2 separate regions of the Homo sapiens genome follow, and region 1 is linked to region 2. Evidence: promoter capture Hi-C in human tissues and cell types (Jung and others, 2019). All regions are on one chromosome and are shown on one strand. Each heading gives the region's core, a stretch centred on a gene start or on the middle of the fragment in contact. The rest is flanking DNA. Distances are from core to core; before and after follow the strand shown. Region 1 has its middle 48 kb from the start of FEM1C. Region 2 holds the start of CCDC112 (coiled-coil domain containing 112).

The links. The method cuts DNA at HindIII sites, captures the fragments that hold promoters and counts their contacts. A contact is called where the count stands out against the background at its distance.
Region 1: a contact is called between a fragment that was not itself captured here and the fragment with the promoter of CCDC112 in region 2, in 1 of the 25 tissues and cell types used here (H1 embryonic stem cells).

Annotation. Positions count from the first base shown.
Region 1 is chr5:115,493,471-115,499,717 of GRCh38, reverse strand. No RefSeq gene overlaps it. Among named protein-coding and RNA genes, the nearest start is that of FEM1C, 48 kb to the left of the region's middle. RefSeq lists an enhancer at 4,864-5,153. The HindIII fragment of the contact is 5,940 bases long and covers 1-4,253 here.
Region 2 is chr5:115,295,218-115,300,633 of GRCh38, reverse strand. It overlaps CCDC112 (coiled-coil domain containing 112), which reads left to right and starts at 3,980. Exons shown (of 10, transcript NM_001040440.3): 1 at 3,980-4,207. The coding sequence starts at 4,091. It overlaps LOC105379129 (a long non-coding RNA gene), which reads right to left and starts at 3,706. Exons shown (of 5, transcript XR_948684.3): 1 at 3,286-3,706. RefSeq lists a silencer at 3,882-4,331. The HindIII fragment of the contact is 13,864 bases long and covers 1-5,416 here.

The sequences.
Region 1 (6,247 bases), core at 34-2,533, 200 kb before region 2:
ATATCTTAAAATACTTAGAGGATTTTGAATGTTCCCATCACATAGAAATGATAAATGTTTGAGGTGATGGATGTGCTACATGATGATTTGATCATTATGTAATGTATATATATTTTGAGACATCACTTTATACCTCATAAATACATATAATTATTATGTGTTAGTTAAAACAAAAAAGATTAATACGGGGCATGGCCCAACCTCTTTAAAGCTTTGCTTTCTACTTTAAGAAGTGAAAAACTGAATAAATAATATTCTGGAGGGGATTAGCTTATTCAGAACATGGCTGGCAAATCTCGAGTATTTTTAGCTTTCTATTTCTTTTTTATTTTAGCTTTCTATTGTGGATTACATATGTCCCCCCAAAATCCATTTATTGAAATCAAATCCCCAATGTGGTGGTATTTGGAGGTGGGACCTTTGAGAGATGAGTGGGTCATGAGGTGGAGCCCTCATGAATGGGATTAGTGCCCTGATAAAAAAGACCCTAGAGAGCTCCCTCACCCCTTCTGCCATGTGAGGACACAGTGAGAAGACACATCTAAAAACAAGGAAGTGGGCCCTAACCAGATACCAGATATAGTGGCACCTTGATCTTGGACTTCCCAGCCTCCAGAACTCTGAGAAATACATTTCTTTTGTTTAAGCCCTCTAGTCTATGATGTTTTTGTTATGGCAGCCCTAATGGGCTAAGACATCTGCTGTTTGCACAGACTAGGACATAACATCTTTTGTCCTGATTTGTTTCATTAGAAAATTCAGTAGCTATAACTTTTAAAAATGTATTTTTAATCCTGAGGAGGACTGGTTACACAAATCTGCACAAATGATATTTTTGGCCACTGGGCTCTAGTAAGAAATTGAGGACACCACTGAACAGAGATTCTCAGCAGACATGAACCACTCTGTGTGCAAATCTTTTTTTTCCTCCTCTGTAGTGCAATGTTCTTTCATCTCTTTCCCAAGCCCCTCATCCCCTCACAGAATCATAAACTTTGTACCTCCAAGAATTACATGTGCATACCAGCATTCACATTTTCTCCTCAAAAATGAAGTTTCTAGTATTTATAAGAATACTTACGCTTTTATAGTATTTGTGATGATATCATTTGTTATTAAATTTTGATCATTTAATTATAAACTGCTTGAGAAAGGGATAATATCACAAATAACTGTTAGGCTTATATGTTTTAGATAACATCCTGCGCTTAAAGAACTATAATTATTTGGTGAAGGGGTAAAAATAATAAATGCATTATATCTATACATTAACATATTGTTTGAAAGTAAATTGCTTTCTTTTAAAAAGGGACTATATACTTAGTATAAACGGTTTTTTAAAATATTTTACAAAAATGAATGTCATTGTAATTTCACTATTCACATATAACCACTACTAAAATTTTGATGTGTTTAGTCTCTGATTACTGGAAAATCACAGTAAACAACTGTTTTTGTAAGTGGAATGTTTCTGGTATAATTGTATTGTTTCTAGCTCTTATCTCACTGCAATTATGTGTTAATAGATACAAAGAAGCTAATGTTATTTCTCATATTTATTTTATTTAAAGAGAATCCTCTCTGGATTCAGGGGTGAGTGGCTTCATTGACATTACTGTTTAAATTCGAAAGGTGCCTGCAGAAGCTAAGGTTCATCACTCAGGAGAAGCAACCCCAACCCTACCCTATTGAACTTCAGGGTTTGAGGATGTGCCGTAAGTGAAAAACAAAACAAAACAAAAAACCCCACTAAAGCAATTATTTGAATGATTGAGAAGGTTTTCTTTGTGTGTTTCTTACCTTTTGCTTTGGTGATCAGGCAAAGTTGTTTTGAGATCTGAGTTATCTGGAAGCTCTTCACTTTTCTACTTTTGTGGCTTTCACTAATGGGCTAAAAATGTTCCCGTTGTGTCAATCACTAGACAACCTTTCCAAATGCTACTTTTTCCTCCCAAAAATGTAGTTTAGCCATCGTTGGGCTGAAACTCCCCTCCCTTGAAGGTGAAGGGCTCTAGGCCTCAGGATTCTCTTGGAAGATGCTATAAACTGTTTTGCTTAGCACCCATTCCAGCCATCTTTTAGCTTGGCTTCCAGTTCAAAGAGGGTAGAGAGCTAAACATTCATTTTTCCACATCCCTTGAAGTGGGGGTTCTGCATGTGACCTTGCTTCAGCTAAGGTGATGGTTCTTTGTGAGACTCGGAGGTGGAGTATAGTAAGGCATTGGCTGGGCACAGGAGTGGGATGGGAAACAGTTCTTTTGACAGGCATGGTGCTAGAGCCATCTGTTCTTTGGGGGCAGCCGAGGCAGCGTTTCTGGCATCAGCCCTTATCAATGTAGATGCAGTGCCACAGACAGCAGGAGTGTGTGTTCTGCCAAAACAGTCATGTGGTGTGGGGTGGCTTTCTCCTAGGGCTCAGGTCTCTGGTCCTCCCAGATTCTATAAGCTTCTCAGATCTTTTCATGAACCCCTTTGTTTACCCTAGACAGAAAGGACTCACTTGACTGCAAATAAGAACTGGACTGTAGAATAAGATGTATGGACTAGAGCCATGGGAGTTGGCAGACGTTTGAATTTGTTGGATAGTAAAATTTCAACAAAATATTTTGGAACTTTGTTAAAGTTGCCAACATTTTGTTTTTCCAAGAAAGGATTTTAACAATACACAATTTATTATCACTATAACTTAGCTAAAGAAATGTTTCGAAGACTAAAAGATGGAAAGAACATACACTCAGAAAAAAATAATTTTCAAGTTGAAATAATCTTACTTGATGAAAAATCTCACAGTAAATCCTTATGTCTTCTTTTTATTGTCCTTGGTAAAACTCATTCATAGAAAATTATTGGGAAACCATTGGTCTAGGAGGGGTCAGCAAGCTTCACTCCACCACTGGCTATTTTTGTAATAAAGTTTCGTTGGGATACGGTCTTGCTTATTCATTTACATAATGTCTATGGCTGCTGTAATGCTGCAGTGACAGACTTGAGTAGTCAAGGCAGTGACCATATGGCCTATAAAGCTGAAAATATTTACTGTCTGGTTCTTTAACAAAATAAGTTTGCCAACTCTGAATGACCTAAGGGATTCCTTCTATCTAGATGATTCTAAAAATCCTTGAGTGATACCTTTAAGGATTTGCTTAATAGATCCACTGTTTGCACTCCCAAAGTCGATGGGAAATTCATTCCTTCAGCAAACATTTACTGAATCCCTATTATGTGCCAGGCTCTCTTCTGGGGACTGGGAATATAGGAATGAATTAGAAAAACAAGTTTCCTAAGTTCATACAATGCATGTTCCAGTGAGAGGAGACAGACAGTAACAAGTAAATGAATAAATAAATAATATTATTTTATGTAGTAATGAATGTTTCCATGAAAAACCAATAGGTGCTTTACTGAAGACTGATCCAAGGGGAGGGTGACTGTGTCCTCATTTAGGAGAGGTGCTCAGGGATAATTTTCAGCTCTTCATTTCTCTTTCTGTGGAATGGGTTTGACCACAAAAGAGTATAGTTAGAGATCGTGTGTAAGTACTTATGCCAGGGCCAATTCATGATAGTGCGGTGAGGGGTGGGGGTCAGGAAAAGGAGCATAAATACATAACCCAGAGAACATAGTCACAGGTTACAAAAATTTGAAGTCCTCAATCTTGGAAAAATAGGTCAAATAACAGAGCTACACAACTAAATCCTAGCTGTGTGTTTTAGACTTTTTTTCTACAGCAGAACACAAAAATAAGTTGAAGAAAAAAAAATAACTTACCTCACATAGAACATTGTGATATAGTTTTGAAGAGTTGGGAGCAACACATGCTTTTGTGTGTTTTCTATATGCTTTATATCTTTTTATAAAGCTGCACTGTAGGAGGTGGGGACATGCTCTCATAAGGATGGAAAACTCCTAAAGAGAAAATTAACAGTGATACTGAATTGGCAGACAGAAGTATTATAGTAACCCTCTTCTCAGGAGAGAAATCTTATTTATTTTTCTGTTTTTCCTTGTTTAAATATAAGGTATGTTTTCCTTTAGTTTATTTTAGCAAATTCATGACACAAAATAAACCAGCATAATTAAACTCATTTATCCCAATCTAAATCTCTGGTCAGCAAAGTTTTCAAAGCCAAAACCAAATGAAACCAAAAATACCCTTAGTCTGAACTTTAATACCAATATAATTTCTTTTCAGGAAGAAGAACATTTTCTTTTCTTTCTCTCTTTCTTTTTTTTTTTTTTTTGCCCTTAGTTTCTTAAGATCAAATACCTCAAATCATGACCAATGGTAAAATATGGATAGTATTGACCGAATCCCTACTGTAGCATTTGAGACTGATGTTAAAATATGGATTAGAGATGTCTGATCTTTTGCTTGTTTTGAAACAATGAGCTCCATATTGTAAAAGTGGCAGAGTTCTTATGGTCCCTGGTTGAGCATAGCAAATTCCTGATCCGTGGGAGCATGTTTATATTGCAATGATTCTAATTTACCCATAAATAAATTATTCTCCTCTGAGGCCCATAATAAATATAGTTTTAATTGCATGCCAACTGTTAGACCCTAAAATTAGACAGCTTTGGTCCTCCTTTGCCAATGGGAGGAGGTGTTCTAGAATCTGAGTTGAGATTTGCTGTGGCTCTAGAGGCACTTTGGGAGACAGAAGAGGCAGAGATATTTCTGATGACTGTCTAAACAGATTTCAGTTGTAGAAATGTTATTTCTGGGTCAGACAGAAGCCACGTTCAAATGTTTTCCAACAAGCTGAAGGGTCGTGCCTGGCCCTGCTTTTTATCATTTCTCTTCTTTTGAATCCCCCGAGTCCATTTTCACAGATGAAGCCAAAGAGGGTGAGTCAGAGACTGCCCTCCTGGCTTGTTCCAGTGTTCACTCTTCCTTAATTAGCAGAAACAGTACCCACTTAGAAAAGATGTTTGTGCCCTGGTGACGAAGTGCCTTCAAATTGAGTCACTCTCTGAAGAAAAATGTGGGACAATCTTACAAATTAATTTTAGCACAAGGGAATACAGGCCATGTGTGAAATTAGGTTGACCGCAATAGAAGTGAGCTTATGAGCAAGCAGGAGATTTTGAGCTCCCCCAACCCCCATCAGCACTCCTTTCTCACCTCTGCTCAACACAGCAATTTACACACCTTCAAAGCTGAGCAGCTTTGGGCAAGGGTTTCCCGATTCCTCATTGGAAAAATAGGGACAATAACAGTACCTGCCTCATTGAGTTGTTGAAAGGATTAAATCAGACGATGCTTATAAGGTGCCTGCACACACGTGTCACAAAGAGGTCGCTGTCCCCTCCTCCCCTTTCCTTCTGGGAGGCGTACTCTTCAGGAAGCATCTCTAGTTCTGCTTTATGCTTGTTTCCCATTTTTCTCTGTACTCACCTTCTTTTTCTGTGTAATGGTAAGGGCTGATGCACCAGAATAGATTTCTTTTGAGAGAAAAGGTACCTGTATGCTAATACTGAACTCAAAAATCCCCTAGTTCTTGCTTAACATGGCAATTGCTAGAAATCAGTTAACAAGCCAGGGATCCTGGAGGAATCTCAAGATCAAGTGTGATGATGGAAGTCAGGCCATTCCTGTCTGTTACCACTTTGGCATTCTGAAAGCTTGCTTTCCTCCCTGAACGTATTCTAGGGCTAAGCACCAAATGTGCTTTAGTTCCTCAACTCACATTTTCAACAGATAAAAGCAAATCTTTTAAAACAATTATTCAAACAATGTTGGAGGATTCCACTGTTTTTTCAAACAGCAGGTATCATCTTTTTACCTTTTTACTAGTTAAAAATGTATTTATTTAGATACATTAAGAATGTCACTGAAATTCCTACAACTTTGTTTTTCAGTTACAAACTAGTATTTGGTCAGCGGCACAATTATTTGGATTTTTTGTTTCTTTCTCCTTTGGGAAAAATATGAATTTTCATTCCTCTTTCATAATGGTCCTTGTTCACCTTTGCTATGCTTTCAAATTTCTTTTCTGTTTAGATCTGTTCTTCTACACTTAAAAGCATGTTTCAGAAATTTCCAAAATGCTGACTAAAACATTTGGTGCTTCTTCTTGTGCTTCTCCCAACAACTTTGCACCAAAAAGTTTATGATAACATTTTGACTCTGGGCTTCTTAGGATCTCCTTTGTCCATGTTTAGTTATTTCTCCAAAGGTTAGAAAATAATGTTGCTGATTCTTGTGCTTCCATTACTTAAGAAATAAACAGGAAGCAAGAGAAAC
Region 2 (5,416 bases), core at 2,731-5,230:
AAGCAAGCACCCTCACACATTGTTAGTGGCAGTGCAATATGGTACAACTCCTATGGAGAGGAATTTAGCAATATCTAACTAGGTTGCATTTGCATTTAACCTTTGACCTAGCTATTCTACTGAAGATAATCACTTTCCCAAATATGAAATACTTATGAATCATTACTTGCAGCAACAAAAGTTTAGAAATCACCTAAATATCTATTGGCAGATGACTGGCTGAATAAAATAACGGAGGATTATGCATTTAATTTTTAAAATTTAAGAAAATTTCTGTGAACTGACATGAAGCAAGTTCCAGTATATATTGTTAAGCAAAAATTTCAAGGTGCAGTATATATTGTTAAGCAAAAATTTCAAGAGTATAATACATGTGTTATCAGTTGAATTGTGTCCTCGAAAGAGATATGCTGAAGTCCTAATCCCTGGTACCTGTGAATGTGACCTGATTTGGAAATGGGGTCTTTCCAAATGTAATCAAGTTAAAATGGGGTCATACTGCATTAGAATGGGCCCTAAACCAGTGACTGGTATTCTTATAAGAGGAAAGTTTGGACACAGAGACACAGATATGTGTTGTGCAACGATGGAGGTAGAAATTGGAGTAATGCTTCTACAAGCCAAGGAGTCTCAAGATTGCTGGCAATCATCAGAAGCTGGGAGAGGGGCATGGAACAGATTTTCCCATTAAGCCCCCATGAAGAAACCAGACCTGCCCACACCTTGGTTTTGAACTTCTGGCCTACTACACTATGAGAGAATAAATTTCTGTTGTTACAAACTACCCAGTTTATGGCACTTTGTTATGCAGCCCTAGAACACTAATATAATATGCTAGATGTTTTTGTAAGAAAAAAAGAAAAATAAAAATGTATTTGTCTATTTACCTTTTTTTCTTTTGCAAATGAAACATAAAAGAACCAGAAATTAACACAATTATTTACCATAGAGGATTAGTTGAAAGGCCATGGAGAGGATATGTTGGGGAGTAAGCCTTCTTTAAACATACCTTGTCATAGAGTTTTGACTTTATACATGTTATACATAACTTACTTATTTTTTAAAAAAAGTAAATTGAAAGAAAACAAAACAAAAAAGGAAACATTGAAATTGAACACAAATGTAATCAAAAGAACTGAAATATATATCAAATTGATTCCATAGCACATAGAGAAAAGGGTGATTTCAGAAAACTTCTGAACACAGTACTCTAGATATCCAGTGCAGGATATACTCTAAAAACAATAGGAAGTGCAAAATGATCTTAGGCTTCTCTTTATTTTTAGTGGCAGTATTAAAATTGTAAAAGACCACTCAACTCAAATCGTTGGTTGACTTGCTTTTTTTCCGAGGCTGCAAGATAATTCTGGACTAATAATTACAGGAATTCAGACAGTGCTATAGTAACAGGGCTCATTTGGATAAAAGGTAATACAAAAATTAAAGAAGTTTTACCTTCTCAATACACCCAAGTGACTTACTTCCTCCTACTTCACACAGGGGTGGGGAGGTGGGGCCAACCATCTCCTCCCTCCAAATCTTCCAACTACCTTGTGCTGCAACCCATGTATGCAGGACTCTCTGGCCTCCCCATAGTCCCCACCCACTACCTCCCTGTGTCAGAAGAGTCTGTGCGTCTATCAAAGACCAAACCTCCCACTTATGCTCTGGACTCCATCAGCCTTACTTTCAAGAGGGTCTGACTGCCTCTGTCCTGCAGCATCAAACTTCTGTCTCCACTAAATAATTCCCAGCAGCATGAACTCCTTCTACTAGTCCCTACCTTGAAACACAACACAACAACAAAGACCCTCTTTGATCACACATCTTCCCCCAGCTACCACTTCATTTCTCTGATCACCTGCACCATAAAATCGATCAAAATCATAGCGAAAAACAGTTTCTACCTCGTCACCTCCATTATCTCCTCAATGCAGTCAGCCAGGCTTTGGTCTACCTACCCCATAAACCCACGGCCTCCCTGTTGCCAAATGCAACCATCATTTCTTTGTTACCCCTTCACTCAGCCTCTAGGCAGTGAACCACACAGCTGACCATTTTCTCCTCCTCCTCCTTCTTTCTTTTTCTTCTTATTTCTTCTCCTTCTTCTTCTCTTCCTCCTCCTCCTTCTCCTCCTCCTCCTTCTCCTCCTCCTCCTCCTTCTCCTCCTCCTCCTGCTCCTCCTTCTCCTCCTCCTCCTGCTCCTCCTTCTCCTCCTCCTTCTCCCTTCTCCCTTCTCCTTCTTCTCTCTTCTCCTTCTCCTTCTTCTTCTTTGCCTTCTTCTTCTCCTCCATTCTTCTTCCTTCTTCTTCTTCTCCCCTCTTCTTCTTCTCTTTTTTTTTTTTTTTTTTTTTTTTTTTTTTTTTTTTTTTTTTTTTTTGTTGAGACGAAGTCTCACTCTGTCACCAGGCTGGAGTGCAATGACACGATCTTGGCTCACTGCAACCTCCGACTCCCTGGTTCAAGCAATTCTCCTGCCTCAGCCTCCCGAGTAGCTGGGACTACAGACAGGCGCCACCACGCCCAGCTAATTTTTGTATTTTTAGTAGAGATGGGGTTTCACCATGTTGGCCAGGATGGTCTCCATCTCCTGACCTCGTGATCCGCCCACCTCGGCCTCCCAAAGTGCTGGGATTACAGGCGTAAGCCACCACGTCCGGCCTCTTCTGCAAAAACTTCCCTCCACAGACTTCCGGTTTTCCTCCCTTCTCACAGATCTCTCCATATTGGTCCCCTTCTCCTCTTGTCCGTGGTCACCTTCTCGGAGTGGCCTAGGCTTAGTTCTCAGACTTCAATTTATACTCACCCTGGGTGAGCTCATTCAGTCTTATTTCAAATATTTTCTATAGGAAGATCAAATTCGTATCTTTAGCTCTCTCTCTCCTGGGCTCCAGAGGCGTTTATCCCGCTGCCTGTTTAATACCTCTACCAGGATGGTCTCTGGAGTCAGGCTGTCTAGATAGGTATCCTACCCTCTACCTGTGTGGCCATGTGATCCTTAACTTTATCACTGAAATGGAGATGATAATAGTACCTACTTCATGAAGTTATTTGTGAAGATTAAATGCAAAAGTGCATATAAAGCACTTATAACAGCCCTGGCATAAAGGAATTGCTCAATAAATACCTATTTGTTTACTTGTTAAAGGTGAAGGAACCTTACCTATGTGTCTAATTCAACAATGAATTCCCAAGGCCTAGAACAGTGCCTGACATATGCTAGGAGCTCCATATTGACTGACTGAATGAATCGATTTCTATAAAGGGGGAAAAGGTAGTACCTACAGAAATCAGCTCAGTTGCCACAGGTTGTCTTGACTGGAAGCGTCATCTGTGGCTTTTTTCCAACTTCCCAGCACTGTATTTTTGGAATCTGTCTTCTCATTGACCAAGTCCTAGGAATGTAACTGTGGCATTCCTGCCTCTGATATCTGGTTCTGTGGAGCAAGCTGGGTTTTTTTCTTTAAAAATCTAAAATATGATTTATTGTTAGAATCCATTGATAATGTTTTTTCATTTAGACTCAGTCTCAGCAGCGCTAAGTAGAAACCTAGAAAGCGGATGTATATTAGGTAAAAATATGTATATATTGACTATAACACGAATAAAATTTAAGGACGATGTAAGACAATGAATTTTCTTGACAGGTATGGGACTGGGCTGGCACAGTCGGTTAAGTGCCCAAAGGGTATATAAACCCGCGACAGGGCAGAGCGCAGCCCCCGCCCCGCCCCGCCCCGCCCCCACACCCGCCCGCCCCAGAACCCCAGACCCGCCCCTCCCCTGCATCCCGGCTCCGCCCGGCACCTTGCCCCTCCCTCGCCCCGCCCCTCCCCGCCTGAATCCCGGCCCCCGCCTCGCATTTCGGCCCCGCCCTGCACCCCAGTCCCGCCCCTCCCGCACCCCCGCACCCCTGCACCCCCGCATCTCAGCCCCGCCCTGCATCCCGACCCCGCCCTACATCTCGGCCCCGCCCTGCATCCCGGCCAAGCCCGCAGCGCAGGGAGCTGTCTGCAGAGGCCAGGGTGCGCCTGCCACGAATCCCCAGGCACCGGTGGCCGCCGCGGCCCGAGTAGCTCGGCGGGTAAACATGGCCGCACTGACGACGGTTGTGGTAGCGGCTGCGGCCACCGCGGTAGCCGGGGCTGTGGCAGGGGCGGGCGCGGCCACCGGGACCGGCGTGGGAGCGACGCCAGCGCCTCAACAGGTAAATCCGGGAGAACCGAGAGCTGCTCTGGCGGCAGGCGAGGGGCTGCAGGCCCTGGCTGAACAGGTGCCCTCTGCAGCGCCGGCGGGAGGCGCGGCGTTCGCCTCCCCTGCTCGGGGCCTGGCACGCGCTGGGCGTTGCTCTTTGTTGGCTTGTGCGTTTAACAGCTTTTGCAGAGCCGCCTCCATGTGGTTTCGGAGTCGAGGAAGACCTGGGTGGGAACCCGGCTCTGCCGCTTCCTAGCCGCGTGATAAGAACATATGCTGTCGGCGACTCACTTTCTTCTCTAAAAATTGGGAATAGTAACATGCACCTCCCGAGCTTTGGACTAACGTTATGTCTGGGGAGCCCCTGGCACAGTGCTTGATTGGAGGGGGACTCTGTGCTCAGTAATTGGTGGCAGCTCTGTTACTGTACCGGCGCTGGGAACACAAGGAGAAAGACAATATGGGATGGTCGGAGGCAGAGGTGTTTCCAGTGATCGGCTTAGGACCGCTTTCTAGGTGGTGAGGACAAGGTATCTTTGTTCAGATGTTATCAGCTCAGCGAGACTTTCCATGATCTCCCTAAAATGAATCGCCTTACGCGGCACACCCAGTCCCTGTTTCTGGTTTTATTTTTCCCCATAGCACTTAGTACCATATATTATATTACATACTTTATTTCTATTGTTTATGTTTCTCCTCACACCCCTCACCCTCCCTCGCACCCCCATGAGAATGTAAGCTCCATGAGGGCAGAAAGTATTGGAAATTTTATTCTTTATTGTATTCCCAGCACCAAGAACTATGCCTGTTGTGTAGTGCCTGGAACGTAGTATGCACTTACTAAATAATTTGTGGATCAATATAAACCTGAAGGAAGGCTGTCATGAGCTGAGGAGAGGTTCCATCTTTTTCCTCCTTTAAGGAAATACAGTGTCTTTACTCGTAGACCTTCAGGAAATTCCACCTACGGCAAATTTTCTCACACATCCTCTATAATTCTCTTTATTATTCTAACTCTGTCCCAAGTATCTCAGGAAAAAATGTAAAATATATAAATATACATAATACGTAAAGTATTTTTAAGTACTATGCTCAAAAAAATGTGTGACACCATGTTGCTGGCTTTCTCCATCATTTCTCTAAATTCTTGTAGCAATGTTCTGTCTTCTGATCTGCATTTCTTGCGAGTTGCCTAATGTTGTTATTGATGCACACTTTTGTG